Regions from separate parts of the Homo sapiens genome. Here all the other regions are linked to region 4. Evidence: promoter capture Hi-C in 16 types of primary human blood cells and fetal thymus (Javierre and others, 2016). All regions are on one chromosome and are shown on one strand. Each heading gives the region's core, a stretch centred on a gene start or on the middle of the fragment in contact. The rest is flanking DNA. Distances are from core to core; before and after follow the strand shown. Region 1 overlaps NECAP2 (NECAP endocytosis associated 2). Region 2 has its middle 7.2 kb from the start of FBXO42. Region 3 overlaps SPATA21 (spermatogenesis associated 21). Region 4 holds the start of ARHGEF19 (Rho guanine nucleotide exchange factor 19).

Region 1 (3,007 bases), core at 9-2,508, 240 kb after region 4:
TCCAACTTATTCTCAGGTGGGCTTGGAGGCTCAGCATTAATAAAGCTTAATTTTAAGAGAGGCCAGGCAGAATACCAAACTGTGAGCTAAATTTGACCTGTAAGCTCTCTGACTTAAGCCTTTCCTTGATTATATTTTCTGTGTCTTCCCTTTAGCAAGAATGGATTCGATTTGAATCCCACAGTAAGGTTTGCCGATCTGTCTCAGCTGGTTAGAGATGCCTTGCGGGCAAAAGGCCCAGTAGTGTGGTAGAAAACCTTGGCTGGAAGGGGGCTCAGGGCTCAGCGCTCAGCCTAACCTGTGCTTTCAGGGGAGCTCTTTGCTCAGGCCCCGGTGGATCAGTTTCCTGGCACAGCTGTGGAGAGTGTGACGGATTCCAGCAGGTACTTCGTGATCCGCATCGAAGATGGAAATGGTAGGCATGGGTCCTGGTGCTTCCTCCTCTTGGGAAAGGTTTTCTCTGCCTTTGGAAGGTGGGTTGATCATGTGTTGTTCCCCAGGGCGACGGGCGTTTATTGGAATTGGCTTCGGGGACCGAGGTGATGCCTTTGACTTCAATGTTGCATTGCAGGACCATTTCAAGTGAGTGGGTCTGGGAGACACACGCTCATGCCCCTCCCTTCTTTCCCTGGACAGAATGATCTCCCAGGTTAGGATACCCAAGTGTTTGTGTGTGATTTGTCTGGCAGCAGAGACTCAGGAGAACCCAGGACAAGCCACCTCTCTTCTCTGCCAATGTTCATCTCTGCTGTAAAGCCTTCTCTTTTACCTGAGGCTCATCTCTACCATCCCAGCCTTCGGGCCTGCCACCTGTCTCCCCTTACCAGTCCCCTGAGCAGCCAGAGTCCTCATCAGGCTCCTGTGGCCTTTCTGGGCCTGCTCCTCCATGTAATCAATGGCGCTTGGATTCCCAGGGCACCCAGCAGATGCCCTGATGTCCTTTTCTGAAGCTAAGAGACAGGGCAGGAAGTCCTCCTCCACCATCTGCAGGGCTCGAACTCAGGCTGCCAGTGAGTGGGCTGTGCCCGGCCACTCACATGGGCGCCTCTGGCTCTTCCCTTACCGGTGCTGCTGGGTGGTGTGGTATGGAGGGTGGGGGACTTTTGTGTTGCCCTCTACTTTTGGGTATCTGTCTTGTCCCCCCGTCTGCCTTCTGAGTGTTTGAGGGTGTGTAGAGACCGCATCTTAGTTCTCATGTCATATACTGTAGAGGGAAGGGCAGGCTCTCACGTGTCCTAGAGATAGTGTTAGGACCCTCTACGTAAGTGATCTCGCTGCATTCGTAGCCATCTTGAAAACCTATAGAATTGTGGGCATATTTTGCTGATGAGGAAACCAATGTGCATGCCGCTACTTAAGTGTCAGATTGGGATTTGAATTCAGGCCTCACTCCCAAGCCTGCACTCTTTCCAGCACCCCGTCTCACTACGAGGCTCAGCCTGGACTGATAGCAGGCAGTAGTGAAGTGAGCCAGTGATTGCAGGGCAGCTGGTCTCTTCCTTCCTCACCTTTTTCCTCATGTTCTCTCCCCAGGTGGGTGAAACAGCAGTGTGAATTTGCAAAACAAGCCCAGAACCCAGACCAAGGCCCTAAACTGGACCTGGGCTTCAAGGAGGGCCAGACCATCAAGCTCAACATCGCAGTGAGTTCTACCCTTGCTTGGCTGTGGTGACGTGATACTTGTGGCCACCCAGCCCCAGAGCCCATTGCTCTTCTTACAGTTCAGCTCCTTCAGTTCAGCAGATGTTTAGTGAGCATCTGCCTTGTGCCAGGTCCTGCATCGGGGTGAACAAGAGACCTCTGTTCTCATGGAGCTCAGAGTTGAGCTGAGACAGGCAGGTAAAAATGTGATAACAACATGGCAGGAAAGGTTCCATGACTAAGGGATGCCCTGGGTGCCGTGGGCTCCTAGAGGAAGGGTGTGCAGCCCATAGTTGTGGGAACCAAGGAAGGCTTCCTGGAAGAAGGGACCTGTAGGCAAGGGAAGAGTGATCAAAGAGTGGTTCACACAGAGGAACAGCAGGTGCAAAGCCTCTGAACTGAGAAGGAGCATCAGTCATTTGCTGCCAGAGGTGGTGTTTCTGTCCTAGCTATTAGAGTGCATCAGGAGGGACCTGTGTGCTCATCCCAGGCTGTGTCTTGAATAAGGAAGATTTGGGAGAGTTCTGGCAGGAGGGCGTTGAGGTGGGCGCTGGGAGTCCTGGGCAGCTTGTGCTGATGGTGTTGTCCTGGCTCCTGTGTCTTCGTTCTGAGCTGCTCTGCCTCTGGCTTCCCTCCCGTCAGCTCCTGTTCATAGGAACAGGTTGGGCTGGGCTGGGCTGGGCTGGGTTGCCTAAAGTTGGCCTTTACCTGGCTGCAAGGGTGGAGAGGGGAGATGAGGTCAGAGTCATGATTGCGGGGACCCAAGGACCAAGTGGATTGGTTTTTGTTTTTGCTAGGAATACTGTGTTGAGATGGATTTGTTTTTTCAAGAAGCTTTGTAACTCTAAAATAATGCTTTTCCTCTTTACTTACTCTTTCTCCTCTTTTCTGCTTCGTGCTGGTGATGATTTGGGATCCTTGAAGTTGGCCAGCTGGCCCTTAAGAGAGAAATGCAAGTCCAATCCAGTGGACTGGTTGGGATGTGATTCTTTCTCTCGCTTGGAGGAAACTAACATTTAATGAGCATCAGCTGAGGGCCAGGTAGTGGTTTTTTTTTGTTTTGTTTTGTTTTTTGTTTTGTTTTGTTGTTTTTTTTTTTTAGGCATTTCTCATGTGAATTAAACATCCTCTCCCTTTCCTCCATGAGATGAGGAAATGGAGGCTTAGGGAGGGTTGGGGACTTGCCCAGGGTCACAGAGCTAGAAATAACTGGCACAGCTGTGCTCACACTGAGGTCTTTGAGGTCTTTTGACTTCAGGGCTGGACTTACGATTTTATTAAGCTGCTGCTTTCCTTACAAGTAGGGAACACATTATCTTCATCTGTGTAACTTGTGCTGCTTTCTGGCTCATGCTTGGTGCTCAGT
Region 2 (2,853 bases), core at 116-2,615, 150 kb after region 4:
ACAGTCACGCACCACATAACAGTGGTCAATGGCAAACCACATGTACAATGGTGGTCACATAAGATTATAATACCATATTTTTACCGTACCTTTTCTATCTATATGTTTTGTTTTGTTTTTCTCAAGACAGAGTCTTGCTCTGTCGCCATGCTGGAGTGCTATGGCGTGATCTCGGCTCACTGCAACCTCCCCCTCCCGGGTTCAAGCGATTCTCCTGCCTCAGCCTCCCAAGTAGCTGGGATTACAGGTGTGTGCCACCACGCCCAGCTAATTTTTTGTATTTTTTGGTTTTTTATTTTATTTATTTATTTATTTATTTATTTATTTATTTATTTATTTATCTGAGACAGAGTCTTGCCCTATCAGCCAGGCTGGAGTGCAATGGCACAATCTCGGCTCACTGCAACCTCTGCCTCCTGGGTTCAAGCGATTCTACTGCCTTAGCCTCCCAAGTAGCTGGGGTTACAGGCACGCATCACCATGCCCAGCTAATGTTTTGTGTCTTTAGTAGAGACAGGGTTTCACCACGTTGGTCAGGCTGATCTCCAACTTCTGACCTCAGGTGATCCACCCGCCTCAGCCTCCCAAAGTGCTGGGATTACAGGCGTGAGCCACTGCGCCCAGCCAATTACTGTATTTTTAGTAGAGACAGGATTTCTCCATGTTGGCCAGGCTGGTCTTGAACTCCTGACCTCAGGTGATCCGCCCACCTTGCCTTGGCCTCCCAAGGTGCTGAAATTGTGCTGGGATTACAGGTGTGAGCCACTGTGTACAGCCCAGAACATAATTTATTCTTTTGTTTTCTTTTTTTTTTTGAGATGGAGTCTCCCTCTGTCGCCCAGGCTGGAGTGCAGTGGCACAATCTCGGCTCACTGCAAGCTCCACCTCCTGGGTTCATGCCATTCTCCTGCCTCAGCCTCCTGAGGGACTACAGGTGCGTGCCACCACGACTGGCTGTTTTTGTATTTTGAGTAGAGATGGGGTTTCACCATGTTAGCCAGGATGGTCTCGATCTCCTGACCTCGTGATCCGCCCGCCTCAGCCTCCCAAAGTGCTAGGATTACAGACATGAGCCACCACGCCCGGCCCAATTTATTGTTTTTTTGAGACAGAGTCTCGCTCTGTCTTTCAGGCTGGAGTGCAGTGGCATGATCTCGGCTCACTGCAACCTCAGCCTCCCAGGTTCCGGCCATTCTCCTACCTCAGCCTCCAAGTAGCTGGGATTTACAGGTATGCGCCACCACGCCTGGCTAATTTTTGTATTTTTAGTAGAGACAGGGTTTCACGGCGTTGGCCAGGCTGGTCTCGAACTCTTGACATCAGGTGATCTGCCTGCCTCGGCCTCCCAGAGTGGTGGGATTAAAGGCATGAGCCACCACACCTGGCCAGAACATAGTTTATTCTTAAAGGGTTGGGGTGCATGACTTAACCCTTGCTTGGTATGACCTTATGTCCTGTTTATAATTGGCATCTTGGTCGCACGCGGTGGCTCACGTCTGTAATCCCAGCATTTTGGGAGGTTGAGGCAGGAGGATCACTAGCTCAGGAGTTTGAGACCAGCATGGCCAACATGGTGAAACCCCATCTCTACTCAAAATACAAAAATTAGCCGGGCGTGGTGTTGCCAGCCTGTAATCCCAACTACTCAGGAGGCTGAGGCAGGAGCATCTCTTGAACCTGGGAAGTGGAGGTTGCAGTGAGCCGAGATCGAGCCACTGCACTCCAGCCTGGGCAACAGAGAGAGACTGTGTCTCAAAAAAAAAAAAAAAAAAGCATCTTATTACCACAAAGCATTTGTTGTGTCAGTCTTATGATCTCTATTTTAGCATTAATGCTGGTCAATTGTTGTGTCTAAACTGTGAAAGGGATAGGGTATAACCAAGTGTGTCTGACTTCCTGTTCCATCATGGCTTCTCTGGGGTCCCCTGTACCAAAAGGGTGTCCATTTAGTCCGTTGGAAGGTTTAGGATTTTATTTTTAGTTCTCATGTGAGATCACTCAGTATCAGTGCATTTAGGACAATATAAATGTTATTAACAGTTGCATTCTATTCTTTTATAGGAATGTACCATAGTCTTTTAAAACAAATTCTCTAGCGATGAACATTTAATTTGTTTCCAGTCTTTTTTGATTATAGACAAAATAGCAATGGATATCCTTAGGTATGCACATTTTCTTTTTGTTTGTTTGTTTGTTTGTTTTGAGACTGAGTCTGGCTCTATCACCCGGGCTGGAGTTCAGTGGCATGATCTCGGCTCACTGCAACCTCTGTCTCCAGGCTTTATGCGATTCTCCTGCCTCGGCCTCCTGTGTACCTGGGATTACAGGTGCGTGCCACCACGCCCAGCTAATTTTTGTATTTTTATTTTTATTTATTTATTTATTTTTGAGATGGTGTTTCGCTCTTGTTGCCCAGGCTGGAGTGCAATGGAGCGATCTTGGCTCACTGCAACCTCCATCTCCAGGGTTCAAGCAATTCTCCTGCCCCAGCCTCCCGAGTAGCTGGGGTTACAGGCGCCTGCTGCCACGCCCAGCTAATTTTATGTATTTTTAGTAGAGATAGGGTTTCACTATGTTGGCCAGGCTGGTCACCAACTCCTGGCCTCAGGCAATCCACCCGCCTTGGCCTCCCAAAGTGCTGGGATTACAGGCATGAGCCACCGTGCCCGGCCTTATTTTTATTTTTTTATTTTTTATTTTTTTTATTTTTATTTTTTGAGATGGAGTCTGTTACCCAGGCTAGCGCAGTGGCTTTATCTTGGCTCACTGCAACCTCCACCTGCCAGGTTCAAGCAGTTCTCCTGCCTCAGCCTCCTGAGTAGCTGGGATTACAGGTGCGCATCACCATGCCCG
Region 3 (2,758 bases), core at 91-2,590, 220 kb after region 4:
AGCCCTGAGTAGCTCTCAGGAGAATAAAGCTGGGCTGGAGGCTGTGAGGGGAGTTTGGAGGCCATGCAAGGCACCTAGAAGAGCGAGTAGGCAATTCTGGGTTTGCTCACCCTGCAGCTCTTTCCGTTACAGAAGCCAGCATTGTTTTTGGGAAGCTTCTCTTCTCCATTCAGCCCATGGGGCTCAGTGGAGCCACCTATCACCTCTGTCTCCATTGTATCAAGAGATCCAGACCACTCCCCACTGCCATGGTGATTGGTTCAAGGATGAGCATCTGACCACAATCTGGGCCAATGACAGTGATGCTAGAGACTTGTTTCAACTATTGCAAAGAGGCTCACTTCCTGTTGGAATGCTAAACCAGAGGGTGTAAGATGGGAAGATGTAATCCTGGAGTGGCCAGGGCAATCCCTGCCATCTTGCAGGGAGAGCTTGCCTGAGAATGAATCCAACACGGAGGAACATAGAGCCAAGAGATACTCATTTAGCACATTGATCTAGCCATACCTGAAGTCTATGAAGGCATGTGTCAGTTACCCAAACTGATATATTCTCTTTTCTGCTTAATCCAGTTTGAATTGGGTTTTGTGTCCATTTTTAACAGAGTCTTAATTAAAGCAGCTGGGGAGGAAGCCTGGGCAGGGGAAGGGAAAGGTGCCAGCTAGGAGTGAATGGATCAGAACATGGGGTGCAGGTCCCTACCTTGCTGACTCCTGGTATGATGGGCTCAACACCAGCCCTCTTTATGGTGATCCTCAGGCCAGGACTTGGCTGCGTCCCTGGAGCCTTGGTTCTACCCTCCGTGTACATCTGGGTGTTTCTATTGTCCATGATGCCAGCGCCAACACGGGTGCCAAGTGAGGGGCATCACCTAGTGTGCTCCTACAGGAGAAATCCAATCAAGCGTCCCACCAAGCCCATCACCTAACTGCTGCTTCAGGAGCCCACTTGGAGCCTATAATGTAGACAGCCTGGCTCGAGGGAAGAGGCGGGGCCAGGCCTTGCAAGGAGAGGCACGCAGCAAAACCAGAGAGCTAGCCACATGCCATTTACCCATACGCTTTTCCTAGTTCTCACTATGACCCTGAGGAAAAGGGGCTCTGGAAGGCACAAGACTTGCCCAAGATCTAACACCTGCTAGGTCGCAGACGAGGATTTGAACCATGGCCTGTTGAATCCCAAAACCCAGGCGCTTTCCCCGACGGCGACATTTCCTACAGGGTATTCTTTGGCATACTGGTCCCTTCAGATGCTCCAAGGGGTTCCAAGGCTAAATGCCTTTGGAAAGTGCTGTGATGAGCGAAATGATACAGGCTCTTTCCTGTACAACTTCTCAGAGCCTTTAAAATACTAATGTGCCTTTTAAAGAGAGTCCAAGAATGTCACAGCTGCTCCTGCTATAGATGAAAACTCCATGTTCTTAGATGGGGCTAAGGAACAAGAACTAGGGACATCTGTCCATCTGTCTCAGGGCCCCAAAGTCTCCAGCGGCAATCTGCAGTTCACCAAAGCACCCACACCCTGCCCTGGACACATCCTTTCTTTTTCTTTTTCTTTTCTTCTTCTTCTTCTTCTTTTTTTTTTTTTTTTGTTTGTTTTGAGACAGAGTCTCGCTCTGTTGCCCAGGCTGGAGTGCAGTGCTGCAATCTTGGCTCACTGCAACCTCTGCCTCCTGGGCTCAAGCAATTCTCCTGCCTCAGCCTCCCTACTAGCTGGGATTTTAGGCGGCCGCCACCATGCCCGGCTAATTTTTGTATTTTTAGTAGAGATGGGGTTTCACCAGGTTGGCCACGCTGGTCTTGAACTCCTGACCTCAAGTGATCCGCCCGCCTCGGCCTCCCAAAGTGTTGGGATTACAGGTGTGAGCCACTGCACCTGGCCATTTCTGAAGCCTTTCATCTCTCCTCCACCTCTTTCATCCAACCTCATGTTCAGCTGTGCCACCACCCCCTACACAAACTTTCTGTTTTAATCCAGGCAGGCTCCTGCAATCCTAGTCCCACAGACCCCAGCCTCTGTGCCCACCTCCCATTTTTTCTATCTTTCCGATAGCCCCCAACCCATCCTTCAAGCTCCTCCCTCTTCTCCAAGTTTCCAACCATCTCAGCTCTCTCTCCAGCCACTGAATTCCTTTGAGGCAACATCAGCACCATTTCTATGGGTACATGGACCCCCTTTCACTGTTAACTAGTTTCCAGGAGTAAATCCTAACCCCCATGCCCCTTCCTCCTGTAGTGAGACCATATGACCTTGAAGATCTTGATGGTGCTTCTTCCACTTTAAATCATGGCAGGCCCGCCAGCATCCACGGAGGAACCTTCCATGTGCTGGAAACCTTTGTAAACAGTATTCTCCTAACAGCCCTGTGAAGTCTGGGTTCAGCCCTGTTTTAAAGATAGGGAAATTAAGGCTCTGAGCAATGTTTTGTCCGATACCACATGGCCAGTCTGCAGAGGAACTGGATTCAAACCCAGGCCTGTCTGACTCCCATGGCCACTCATCTCATCATATCATTTTGCCTACAAAGAAGCTTAAGTCATTCATTCATTTCCTTGTGCAATCGATAACTGTTTAATGACACGTGCCCGTGCTAGGGACAACGTCAGGCCTTAGGGGATACACTGGGTGTCCTGACGGTTCCCACAGTTTACCAGGGACACAGAGGAGGCGCACTTAATAGCTGCTGACCCAAGTTCGCACTTCCTTTTCCTGCCCTCCAGGCCCTTCCTGCAGTTACAGCTGCACCCCTGCCATGCAA
Region 4 (2,854 bases), core at 256-2,755:
TTTTTATTATCATCAGTCTTTCTCTAGACAGAAGGCAGCTCAGGCCTTCACACAGATGGGGAAGATGAAGGAGTGAGGCTGAGACACACATTATATCGCAGGAGTGTGCACAAGGAGGCCCCTGCCCACAGACGGGTCTCTTTCTCTGCAGGAATCAGAAGTCCTCGACACAGAAGTCCCACTTGCTTCTGGGGGCACACATGTGCAGGCATGTACACATGCCCCCTGCCCCTTTGTATGCTGGGAGATTCTAGCACTTGGGTTCTGGAAGCTCCTGGAGGGCAGGGAGGGACCCTCTCTCCCATGGCTCACAGGGATAAGTAGGCAAAACATTGAGGCTTTGCAGCAGGAGCACCCCCAGTTAAGGCTGCAGAGGAGAAGGCTAGGTGAATGTGGGGAGAGGGGACATAGAAGGCTTCCCGGGGAGATGAAGCTGGAGGCAGGTCCCTAGCAGGGAAGAAGTCAGGAGTGTGTCAGCCTCCACCTATGCTCAAGCCAAGGGGTAATAAGAATGACCCATCTAGCTGGGATGCCAGCCCTGTGGCCCTCCAGGGGTTTGGCCCACCCAACCTCAATGCTGGGGAGCTAAGAGGGACAAGCTGTGTTCATATTGTGTGTAGCTCATCTCTGTTAGAAAAAAACAAACAAAAACCTCAGAAAGAGAACTGGCCCCAGACAGCAGGGACATTACCTTCCCAAGGCACGATCACAGGATAGAGACTCTTGTGTCTACTAGGCAAGGGCCACTCTGGAGCCCAAAAAGAATAACCTCCGCCCAAGCTTTGAGGCCCAGTGTTGACACTGACCAGCTGTGTGGCCTTAGGCAATTCACAGCCCATCCCTTGGCCTCAGTATTCCCATCTGTAAAGTGGCTCCTAAGGGACCGCACCACCGCCCAATGCCCTCTCTAAGAAACATGTCTCATCATAAATGTCTCTGGGCCAAGAAGGATGGGCAGGGGCCGAGGAAAGTACCCTTGGTGGGTGCTGCTAATTACAGAAGACGATGGGCCCACTTAGCAAGGCTGCCAGAGAGTCCCTGGACACTACCATGATCAGAAAAAGTGTTTCTGGCCTCCTGTACCTAGCTTTTCCCTGCCCCCTCCCGGGTGCCCCTTGCCTTGCTGCCCAGGAGAGCTGGTACCCTGCCAGAGCCTCTCTGCCCTTTAAGGAATAAAGCCAGGTGGGAAGTCATGGCTGGAAAGTGGATCCAGGCCAAGTGGTTCACAGAGCCCCAGAAGGCCATAGTGGGTCAGAGCCAGGATCAGAGACCAGGCGGGCAGCACAAAGGGCTCACTCAGCGGGGAAAACTGGCGGGAAGAGAATGGGACTGCTGGCACCCAGGTGGGGCCCTACCTCAGCCAGGGAGCTCCGTCCAGCTGCCAGCACGGTCCAGGGCTCCGGGACACCCTGGGGGCTCTGGGGTTGCAGCCAAGTCCTCAGGGGGCGATGTCAGCATGTCAGCATGGCCCCAGAGCCGAGCAAGGCAAGCTCCTGGGTATTGTGTGGGGCAGGGAGGGGGAGGTGAAGGAGGAGGGAACCTTGCAGAGAGAGGCAGGCGGCTGTCTCAACGTGCCTGCTCCCCGCCCCCCTTCCCCAGAACCGGTTTGGCTAGTCTGGGGTACAAGAGGGGGGCTGGAACAATGGGAGTCCTATGCCCAAGTGAGGCTCTGAAGGACCCTACACCCAGGTCCTAAAGACGGGGGAGGCAGTGCTTCTGCTCCTAGGAGACAGGTCACCACTCTTCTGGAGCTTCCCAAACATGAGCATGCTCAGGGGACTTCTTGGAGCTGGGGAGCATCCTGGGAGCTTCACAGAGAGCCTCCCAAGCCCTGCACTCCTTAGGGACCCTGAGAACCCTGATGACCCTCTCTGATCCTATTACTACATCTATCAAATTGGAACACTCATCCCTATGATTGGGAGACAGAAATCAGTCCTGAAAGTTGATGATGTGACATGTGGCATCATCCTGGACAGCCTCTCCTCATCTAGTACAGCCACTGCTTGCAAATCCCCATCCTTTCCCACGGCCTGGAATGACCTGCCCCACCATCTCCAGTGGCCGCCTCCACCATGAAGCCTTCCCAGACTATACCAATTGAGCCCTCAATAAACCAAGCCAAATAGCCAAGTCAAACTGCCTCCAATAAGAAGGGCATGCTCTATGCCCGGCATGCAATCTTCCCAACCCTGTGGAATGGGAAGCTGCATTTTCCCCTAATTCTACCTGCCATCTGTTTGAGCTACCAGCAATTGCCAGGCACCTAATATTAATATGCAGATGTGTACACAGACTAATAGTCATGAAGCTAACTTATTGTTCACCTACTAGGTGCCAGGCACTGTCCTGAGCACTTCACATGTATTTACTCATTTAATCTCCACCATGACCCTGTCAGGTAGATACTGCTACCACTTATCAGGTGAGTACAGTTGTCCCTTGGTACCCAGAATCTGTGGGGAATTGGTTCTAGAACCCTCCCATACGAAAATCCATGGCTGCTCCAGTCCCTTATACAAAATGTCATAGTGTTTGCTATAACCTTTGTACATCCTCCAGTAAATTTTATTTTATTTTATTTTATTTATTTATTTATTTATTTATTTATTTATTTATTTATTTATTTTTAAGATGGAGTCTTGCTCTGTCACCCAGGCTGGAGCAAGTGGTGGGATCTCAGCTCACCGCAACCTTTGCCTCCCAGGTTCAAGCAATTCTTCTGCCTCAGCCTCCCCAGTAGCTGGGATTACAGGCGCATGCCACCACACCCTACTAATTTTTTTTGTTTCTAGTCAAGACAGGGTTTCACCATGTTGGCCAGGCTGGTTTTTGAACTCCTGACCTTAAGTGA

Evidence for each region. The method cuts DNA at HindIII sites, captures the fragments that hold promoters and counts their contacts. A CHiCAGO score of 5 or more calls a contact.
Region 1: a contact is called between a fragment that was not itself captured here and the fragment with the promoter of ARHGEF19 in region 4, in 2 of 17 cell types (endothelial precursors and erythroblasts). The highest score is 6.6, in endothelial precursors.
Region 2: a fragment that was not itself captured here is called in contact with the fragment with the promoter of ARHGEF19 in region 4 in 9 of 17 cell types (endothelial precursors, megakaryocytes, M2 macrophages and 6 more); the score reaches 13.1 in endothelial precursors.
Region 3: a contact is called between a fragment that was not itself captured here and the fragment with the promoter of ARHGEF19 in region 4, in 1 of 17 cell types (endothelial precursors). The highest score is 7.0, in endothelial precursors.

What each region holds. Positions count from the first base shown.
Region 1 is chr1:16,447,560-16,450,566 of GRCh38, forward strand. It overlaps NECAP2 (NECAP endocytosis associated 2), which reads left to right. Exons shown (of 8, transcript NM_018090.5): 3 at 311-415; 4 at 501-582; 5 at 1,534-1,642. Among named protein-coding and RNA genes, the nearest start is that of NECAP2, 8.3 kb to the left of the region's middle. The HindIII fragment of the contact is 2,430 bases long and covers 44-2,473 here.
Region 2 is chr1:16,358,298-16,361,150 of GRCh38, forward strand. No RefSeq gene overlaps it. Among named protein-coding and RNA genes, the nearest start is that of FBXO42, 7.2 kb to the left of the region's middle. RefSeq lists a silencer at 2,166-2,382. The HindIII fragment of the contact is 7,817 bases long and covers 1-2,853 here.
Region 3 is chr1:16,430,541-16,433,298 of GRCh38, forward strand. It overlaps SPATA21 (spermatogenesis associated 21), which reads right to left. Exons shown (of 13, transcript NM_198546.1): 2 at 2,250-2,384; 3 at 798-882. The coding sequence starts at 831. Among named protein-coding and RNA genes, the nearest start is that of SPATA21, 5.5 kb to the right of the region's middle. The HindIII fragment of the contact is 2,375 bases long and covers 154-2,528 here.
Region 4 is chr1:16,211,147-16,214,000 of GRCh38, forward strand. It overlaps ARHGEF19 (Rho guanine nucleotide exchange factor 19), which reads right to left and starts at 1,506. Exons shown (of 16, transcript NM_153213.5): 1 at 1,356-1,506. RefSeq lists an enhancer at 1,310-2,008. The HindIII fragment of the contact is 4,473 bases long and covers 779-2,854 here.